Linked DNA regions of Homo sapiens: all the other regions are linked to region 3. Evidence: promoter capture Hi-C in 16 types of primary human blood cells and fetal thymus (Javierre and others, 2016). All regions are on one chromosome and are shown on one strand. The core of a region is centred on a gene start or on the middle of the fragment in contact, and the rest is flanking DNA. Distances in the headings are between cores, read along the strand shown.

The links. The method cuts DNA at HindIII sites, captures the fragments that hold promoters and counts their contacts. A CHiCAGO score of 5 or more calls a contact.
Region 1: a fragment that was not itself captured here is called in contact with the fragment with the promoter of HDHD5 in region 3 in 1 of 17 cell types (naive B cells); the score reaches 5.4 in naive B cells.
Region 2: a fragment that was not itself captured here is called in contact with the fragment with the promoter of HDHD5 in region 3 in 1 of 17 cell types (naive B cells); the score reaches 6.2 in naive B cells.

Annotation. Positions count from the first base shown.
Region 1 is chr22:17,346,515-17,349,367 of GRCh38, reverse strand. No RefSeq gene overlaps it. Among named protein-coding and RNA genes, the nearest start is that of CECR2, 22 kb to the left of the region's middle. RefSeq lists an enhancer at 2,015-2,309. The HindIII fragment of the contact is 2,575 bases long and covers 209-2,783 here.
Region 2 is chr22:17,403,846-17,406,742 of GRCh38, reverse strand. All of the region lies in intron 1 of CECR2 (CECR2 histone acetyl-lysine reader), which reads right to left. Among named protein-coding and RNA genes, the nearest start is that of CECR2, 36 kb to the right of the region's middle. The HindIII fragment of the contact is 3,899 bases long and covers 1-2,897 here.
Region 3 is chr22:17,157,843-17,160,685 of GRCh38, reverse strand. It overlaps HDHD5 (haloacid dehalogenase like hydrolase domain containing 5), which reads left to right and starts at 1,409. Exons shown (of 8, transcript NM_033070.3): 1 at 1,409-1,560. The coding sequence starts at 1,435. It overlaps HDHD5-AS1 (HDHD5 antisense RNA 1), which reads right to left and starts at 1,297. Exons shown (of 2, transcript NR_024483.1): 1 at 849-1,297. RefSeq lists a silencer at 1,398-1,727. The HindIII fragment of the contact is 6,885 bases long and covers 1-2,163 here.

The DNA.
Region 1 (2,853 bases), core at 247-2,746, 190 kb before region 3:
ACGGAGATGCTTCAGTGCAGCTTGAAGGACATGTGTCCTTTGGGTGGACAAGGGGGAAGCTAAGAGGCGCAGTGGCATAAAATAGTCGCGTCACTCGGAGTGTCTGGGGCAAAGCATGTTTGTTGGTTGTGGAAGAAGAATGAGGCTACAGATGTAAACAGGATTCAGGTGAGGAAAGTCCTTTTGTGCTCAGCTCACAGTTAAAGCTTCATGCTGACACATTTGGAGAAGCCACTGAAAGAGTTTAAGCAAGAAAATGATAGAAACTGTTTACGTTTAGAACATTGGCACAATGATGGAGAATGGCTTGAAGAAGCAAAGGGAACAAATAGGTTGTAGTCAGAAAGACGAGTTAGAAAATAGACTGAAGTCACAAAGGCTGAAGTCAGTAATTCAGGCAGGAAGCAGTGAGGTCCTAACCGAAGGCAACAGCAGAGGGCATGAAGAAAAGGAGGAGTCAGGACAATATTGTGCAGCTAGAACCTACAGGCTTTGGTGACTGATGTGTGTTCTGCTTGAGAAATACGTGTCCTAGATTACTTGTGTTGGGAATAACACTTAAAATCTTAAGGAGATTGAACACTCAAACAAAGGATTCTTAGCAAAGCAATTTTACTTTTGCGCAGAGGGGTGCTTTTCCTTGGCCGGTCACCATGAGAGCACACCTGAACAAAGGCGCACGAGAGCCTTTATTCCTGATGCCAAGTCCTGCCCCTGTACCCTTTCCCCATTGGCCAGGGTCGGGTCGCACAAACTGAACTAATCCCGGTTGGCTAGACATTTGAACTCTTTTTAGATAAGGTGGACACGTAAGGGAGAGAGGGGAAAAGGGGAAAGGGTATCTGTAATGAGTTAGCGAGCTAGTCTTTTTTATTTTTTTATTTTTTTATTTTTTGAGACGGAGTCTCGCTCTGTCGCCCAGGCTGGAGAGCAGCGGCGCGATCTCGGCTCACTGCAAGCTCCGCCTCCCGGGTTCACGCCATTCTCCTGCCTCAGCCTCCCGAGTAGCCGGGACTACAGGCGCCCGCCACCACGCCCGGCTAATTTTTTTGTATTTTTAGTATAGACGGGGTTTCACCGTTTTAGCCAGGATAGTCTCGATCTCCTGACCTCGTGATCCGCCCGCCTCGGCCTCCCAAAGTGCTGGGATTACAGTCGTGAGCCACCGCGCCCGGTCATCTTTTTTTTTAAATAAGGAAAGAATGTGAGCTGGTACTGATAAGCCTGGTACTGTGGCGTGTCTGGGCATGTAACAAAGGCAGAAAGGAAAAAAAGAGAGAAAGGAAAAAGGGGTTTAAGGGTATATGAATTAAAGAATAAAGGATTGATAGGGCTATTTGAAGAGAAACCTCATCATATCCCACACTCGCGTGACTGGGCGAGGGATGACCTCACTGCCTGAAATCCAGACTATGGCTCTTCAGAGAAAGTTGAAGCAAGCAGGTATACACGTTGTAACCCTGAGGCACGATGAGCTGATGACCAGCCGGATGCACAGGACCAGCAGGGAGGTCCCAGTGGACGTGGTGCGGGAGCCAGCAGGGTGTAGCAAGCCCTTCGGGAGGCTCCCCAGGGAGGACATGGGAAGGGAGGGGGGCCAAGAACTAAGGACAGAGCTGTGGTCCTTCCCTCGTTCCTTCCTCGCATAGCGTGGATTCAAGACTTTTGTTGTTGTTGTTGTTGTTGTTGAGACAGAGTCTCGCTCTGTCCCCCAGGCTGGAGTGCAGTGGCGCAATCTCGGCTCACTGCAACCTCCGCCTCCCAGGTTCAAGTGATTCTCCTGCCTCAGCCTCCCAAGTAGCTGGGACTACAGGAGCGTTCCACCACGCACGACTAATTTCTGTATTTTTAGTAGAGACAGGGTTTCACTATGTTGGCCAGGCTGGTCTCAAACTCCTGACCTCAGGTGATCCGCCTGCCTCAGCCTTCCAAAGTGCTGGGATTACACGCATGAGCCACGGAGCCTGGCCCAAGACTTCTTTTTTTTTTTTTTTTTTTTTTTTGAGATGGAGTCTTGTTCTGCCACCAGGCTGGAGTGCAGTGGCGCGATTCCAAGACTTCTTAAAGTCCTGTTGAGCCTTCTCAAGGTTCTTCTTGGGATTGTACCTAACAAAACAAAGCAAAAGTTATTTCACCAACGCCCAGTATGACAGTGTTGCTTCCTTCCCTTGAGCTGATAAGCATGTTTATCTTAAGACAACCAAGCTAGCATTAGGGTTTTGGCAGCTCATCACACCATTGGTTCATATTGAGTCCAGAGACAACAGAAACCCCCCAATTTAAAAATAAACAGTCAGGCTGGCTGGGCATGGTAGCTCACACCTGTAATCAAACCAGCACTTTGGGAGGCAGAGGCGAATGGATCACTTGAGGTCAGGAGGTCAAGACCAGCCTGGCCAACATGGTGAAACTCTACTAAGAATACAAAAATTAGCCAGGCATGGTGGTGGGCACCTGTAATCCCAGCTACTGAGGACGCTGAAGCTGGAGAATTGCTTGAACTGGGGAGGCGGAGGTTGCAGTGAGCTGAGATCGTGCCATTGCACGTCAGCCTTGGCAATAGATCAAGACTCTGACTCAGATAAATAAATAAATAAATAAATAAATGGTCAGGCCAAGATCTCCTTCAACTACTTTTCTGTAATTGGTTTTTGGGATTTGATTACACAATTTTATATTTGCCTACTAGAAGATGACCCTTTCAGCCTGCATTAAACAGGCCTTCACTGCTGTCAGAATAAAGGTGCCACATGCCAGTATCATGTAGAGAATGTAAAGAAGCTTCAGAAAAGCACTGGAAAATAGCACCTACAGGAAGAGGCTGATGAGATGATGCTGCATTGTTGTCGCTGG
Region 2 (2,897 bases), core at 340-2,839, 250 kb before region 3:
ACTGCAATCAGGAGACAGCTCTTCAGCTAGAAGAAAGAGCTGGCAGGATTTCCAGACTCATGCTAAGAATCTGGGGAAGGGAAATGAATCATTTCATATTTCACCCCTATTGTATTAAAAGATAAAGAAGTCTCTGAATTGACATTTATAAGATACTCTAGCCAAGAACAGCAGAATACACATTCTTTTCTTTTTTTTGGAGGGAGGGGTGGGGGGAGGAACAGAATCCTGTTCTGTCACCCCCCAGGGTGGAGTGCAGTGGTATAATCTCGACTCACTGCAACCTCCGCCTCCTGGGTTCAAGTGATTCTCATGCTTCAGCCTCCTCAGTAGCTGGGATTACAGGCGTGTGCCACCACGCCTGGCTAATTTTTGCATTTTTTTAGTAGAGACGGGGTTTCGTCATGTTGGCCAGGCTGGTCTCGAACTCCTGACTTCAGGTGGTCCTCCCGCCTTGGCCTCCCAAAGTGCTGGGATTACAGGCGTGAGCCACCATGCCCGGTCCTACACATTCTTTTCAAGTGAAAATGAAACATTTACCAAAAGACACCATATTCTGGGCCATAAAACAAGTCTCAATACATTTAAAAGGATGCAAGTCATACAAAATGTCTTGTCTGACTAAAGTGGGTTAAATTAGATATCATTAATAGAAAGCTCTCTGGAAAATTCCCAAATATTTGAAAACTAATATTCTTCACACTTCTAATAACTAATACACTTCTAATATATTCGTATTTCTAAATAACCCATGGCTGCAGGAAGAAATAGAAAGGGAAAAGGGGAAGACCTGAATGCTTTTTCTCTAAGATGAGGAACAAGACCAGGATGTCTACTCTGGCCTCTACATTTTATGGTTGGCTCTAGACAGTGCACTAAGGTAAGAAAAAGAAGTAGTGGCTTCCACATTGCAAAAAGATGCAAAACTATTTTTATTTACAGACAACATGATCATCTATGCAGAAAATCCAATGGAATCTACAAACAGGTTGCTAAAAGGGGGGAGTTTAGGAAGGTTACAGATACAAGAGTAATATAACTCAACGCTATTTCTAATACTAGCAAACAATTGAAAATTTTTTTTTTTTTTTTTTTTTTTTTTTGAGATGGAGTCTCACTCTTTTGCCCAGGCTGGAATGCAGTGGCACGATCTCGGCTCACTGCAACCTCTGCCTCCTAGGTTCAAGCGATTCTCCTGCCTCAGCCTCTGGAGTAGCTGGGATCACAGGCGGCAGCCACCACACCCGTCTAATTTATTTTATTTTATATTTTATTTTATTTTATATTTTTTATTTTATCTTATTTTATCTTATCTTATCTTATTTTATTTGAGACGGAGTTTCGCTCTCGTTGCCCATGCTGGAGTGCCATGGCGCAATCTCGGCTCACTGCAACCTCCACCTCCCAGGTTCAAGCGGTTCTCCTGCCTCAGCCTCCTGAGTAGCTGGGATTACAGGCGTCCACCACCATGCCCAGCTAATTGTTTGTATTTTTTAGTAGAGACAAGGTTTCACTATGTTGGCCAGGCTGGTCTTGAACTCCTGACCTCAGGTGATCCGCCTGCCTCAGCTTCCCAAAGTGCTGGGATTACAGGTGTGAGTCACCATGCCTGGCCTAAAACTTTCAAAAATGTATAATAGCATCAAAAAGAATGAAATACTTTGGGATAAATCTGACAAAAGATGGGAGATACCTAAAGAGTTGAGAATTTGAATATAAAACTTTTCTGTCAGAAATCAAAGAAAACCTAGAGAGAGAGAGGTACCATCATCATGGGTCAGAAGACTCAATAGTGTTAAGAGGCCCATTTTCTACAAATTGACCTAGATATTCAATACAACTCCAATCTAAATGCTAGCAGGCTTTTTTTGTAGAAACTGATAAGCTAATTCTAAAATTCATATGGAAATATAAAAAATATAAAATAGCCAAAGCAACTTTGAAAATGAACAAAGTGAGAGGACTAACATTATTTGATTTCACTACTTATTAAAAGCTGCACTAATTAAGATACTGTGATATTGTCTTGAAAACAGAACAGAGTGAACAATGACATAGAACAGGGTCCAGGGCCAGGCGCGGTGGTTCACGCCTGTAATCCCAGCACTTTGGGAGGCCGAGGCGGGTGGATCACGAGGTCAGGAGATCGAGACCATCCCGGCTAAAACGGTGAAACCCCGTCTCTACTAAAAATACAAAAAATTAGCCGGGCGTAGTGGCGGGCGCCTGTAGTCCCAGCTACTGGGGAGGCTGAGGCAGGAGAATGGCGTGAACCCGAGAGGCGGAGCTTGCAGTGAGCCGAGATCCCGCCACTGCACTCCAGCCTGGGCGACAGAGCGAGACTCCGTCTCAAAAAAAAAAAAAAAAAAAAAAAGAAAGAACAGGGTCCAGAAATGAACCCACATGTATATGGAAAACTGACTTGGGCAACTAATAAAGGATAGTCTTTTTTTTTTTTTTTTTGGCAGGGGGGTCGGGGGGATGGGGACAGAGTCTCGCACTGTCATCCAGGCCGGAGTGCAGTGGCACGATCTCGGCTCACTGCAACCTCCACCTCCTGGGTTCAAGAGATTCTTCTGCCTCGGCCTCCCAAGTAGCTGGGAGTACAGACGTGCAACATGACGCCCGGCTAATTTTTGTTATTTTTAGCAGAGACGGGGTTTCACCACATTGGCTGGACTAGTCTCAAACTCCTGACCTCGTGATCCTCCTGACTCCATCTCCCAAAGTGCTAGGATTGCAGGTGTGAGCCACTGTGCCCGGCCAGGGTGGTCTTATCTACAAATGCTACTAAACACATGCCCCCTCCCCACTCAAAAAAAACCCCACCAACTTCGATCAGTACTTTATATCATATGCAAATTATCAATTCAAAATGAAGCACAGACTTAAATGGT
Region 3 (2,843 bases), core at 160-2,659:
TCATTTTATTATTATTATTATTATTTTTTTTTTTTTCAAGACGGAGTCTCACTCCGTCACCCAGGCTGGAGTGCATTGGCGCAATCTCGGCTCACTGCAACTTCTGCTGCCTGGGTTCAAGCGATTCTCCTGCCTCAGCCTCCCGAGTAGCTGGGACTTGAGGCGCCTGCCACCGCGCCTGGCTAATTTTTGCAGTTTTCAGCAGAGACGGGGTTTCACCATCTTGGCTAGGTGGTCTTGAACCCCTGACCTCCTGATCCACTCGCCTCAGTCTCCCAAAGTGCTGGGATTACAGGTGTGAGCCACCGCACCCGGCCCTATTTTATTATTTTTAAAATAGAGAAGGGGTCTCCCTATGTTGCCCAGGCTGGTCTGGAACTCCTGGACTCAAGTTTTCCTCCCACCTTGACCTTCCAAAGTTCTGGGATTACAGGGGTGAGCCACCGCACCCTGGCCTGCTAATGTGTGAGCTAGTGCAGTCTCTGTCCATATCCTCGACTCCCTCTCTGCTAGTGCTAAGTACATTGTAGGGTCCCGCGTTTTTAGCATAGCTATACCTATGAATGGGCCAAAGAATCTGAGGGCATCCTACACATTTCAAACGGTGGGAATGGAGACCTCTTTCCTCCAGCAGAATCTCCCCTCATGACCGGGGGACTACCAGATCCAGCTCTGCTAAGGGCCTCCACGGACGGAGTCGGCTACCTCTCCACTTTCAGTGACCGAAATCCATTCTTTGTTCATTCACCCTTGTGTCTACTCCGGGAAACGCGCAGCGGACACAGTCGTGTTCCCTAAGTGTTTGCTGACTTAGTCATCTGGCCCTCTCTGGAGTAGTCATTTTGTACCTTGTACTACATTCGTGCCTCTACCTCTCCGCAGTGCGCGCGGGGGCGGACTCACGTGCGCAGTCTCCCTATGCGCTGGGAGGGCGTCAGCAGGTTTACAGAAACAATGAAAGACTTAACAATTGGCGCGCGACGAGCGTCCCTTGACTGGCAGGGGCCCAGAGGACCTGAACATCACTAAGGGTCTGCCCCAGCGGCCCGGCCCTGAAGTCAAGGTTGAGACCCCCGGCCCAGACAGTCCGCGAAGCTGAGGGAGGCCGGCCTGGGGCCTGCCGCGCAATGTTACCGGGATCCGCAGGCACAGGGCGATAGTACGGACGCCGCCGCCCAGGCCGTGCCCATTGTGCGCCGCGGCCAGCTCACCGCGATCTCGGTCTAGGAGGCGGCGGGACCCCGCACTTCTTCCTTGCAACGGAGCCCCTTTGGCCTGCGGGTCGAGTTCCATAGGCGCCCGACGGGCTCCGCGCGCTTACAGGACTACAACTCCCGTGATGCCGCGCGCGCCGACCGCTGATTGGCTGTGCAGCGGACGGACTCGCGGGGGGGGGGGGCCGCACGCCGTGCACGTGCGCACGGCGACGGCCGGATGGCTGCGTGGGGCTGTGTGGCTGCGCTCGGCGCGGCGCGTGGGCTTTGCTGGCGGGCGGCGCGCGCGGCTGCGGGGCTCCAGGGCCGCCCCGCCCGCAGGTGCTATGCTGTGGGCCCCGCTCAGGTGAGGACGTCCGGGTTCTGGCCGAGCCACTCGCCACTCAGGGCCGGAGGCGGGGCGGGGAGCCGCGGGGAAGGAGGGGCGGCCGGGCTGGTATCCCAGCCTCCTGGGAACTGCCTGGACCGTCGTCGCGCCCGAGTGCATCGCGTTCTTGCTGGAGGGCGGATGCGCCCTGCCTTCCTCTGACTCGCTGGCGGCCTCGGAAACGCTACTCCCGCGGGAGAGCGCTCGTGGGACGGCCTGGGCCAGGCTGCTTGTCAGCCCCTGCGCTTCCCGGCAGTTTCCGCGTCCCTGTTTTCCCTGCGCGTCTTCTGATTTCCACCATGAGGACGTTTGGGTCGTGATTTTCATCTGCATGTGGAGGAAACTGGGCCGCGCGCCGGGAGCCGCGCCTGCGGGTGCTCCGCCCCCAAGTGCCTGTGGGTTTGGTGCGGGCCTTGGGTTCAGTTCAGCTCGCTGTGACCTCGACTGAGCGCTGGAGGCTCCGCGGGCGGGAGCAGGAGGGCTGGAGCCGGCGCCTGCTGTGTGCCCGGCGCGGTAGTGATGTGTGAGCCTCCCCGCAACTTCTGAGAAGGTGTGACCTTGTGTGGTCAGGAAGCCGAAGCTTGACGAGTTTTCAAGTACGTTTTCTCAGGTCCTGCAGCTGGGAGACGGCACAGGACACTAAACCAGGTTGGTCAGATCCACGGCTCTCACGCTCCCTTGGGCCGTTTTGCCTTTTCTGGAAAAAGGAATCACTTTGTCTTCTAAACGCACAAGTAATATTTTACATTAACATACGGATTTCACAGTAATCCTTGCATTTTTTTTTTTTAGACGGCATCTCTGTCACCAGGTTGGAGTGCAGTGGCGCAATCTCTGCTCACTGCAACCTCCGCCTCCCGGGTTCAAGCGATTCTTCTGTCTCAGCCTCCCGAGTAGCTGGGATTACAGGCACCCGCCACCACATCCGGCTAATTTTTGTATTTTTAGTAGAGACAGGGTTTCACCATGTTGGCCAGGCTGGTCTCGAACTTTTGACCTCAGATGATCCTCACATCTTGGCCTCCCAGAGTGGTGAGATTACAGGCATGAGCCAGTGCACCCGGCCAAATTACTTGCATGAAAAAAACACATAGTGCTTACTTTGTGCCAGGCACTATTCTAAGTACTTCACAGTTATTCGTATAATCTTTATAACAACTCCGAGGAAAGTACTATTATTAGTCTTCCCATTTTATAGATGGAGCAGAGGCACAGAGAGGTTAAGCAGCTTACCCAAGGGCACACAGCTGGTAAGTGGCAGA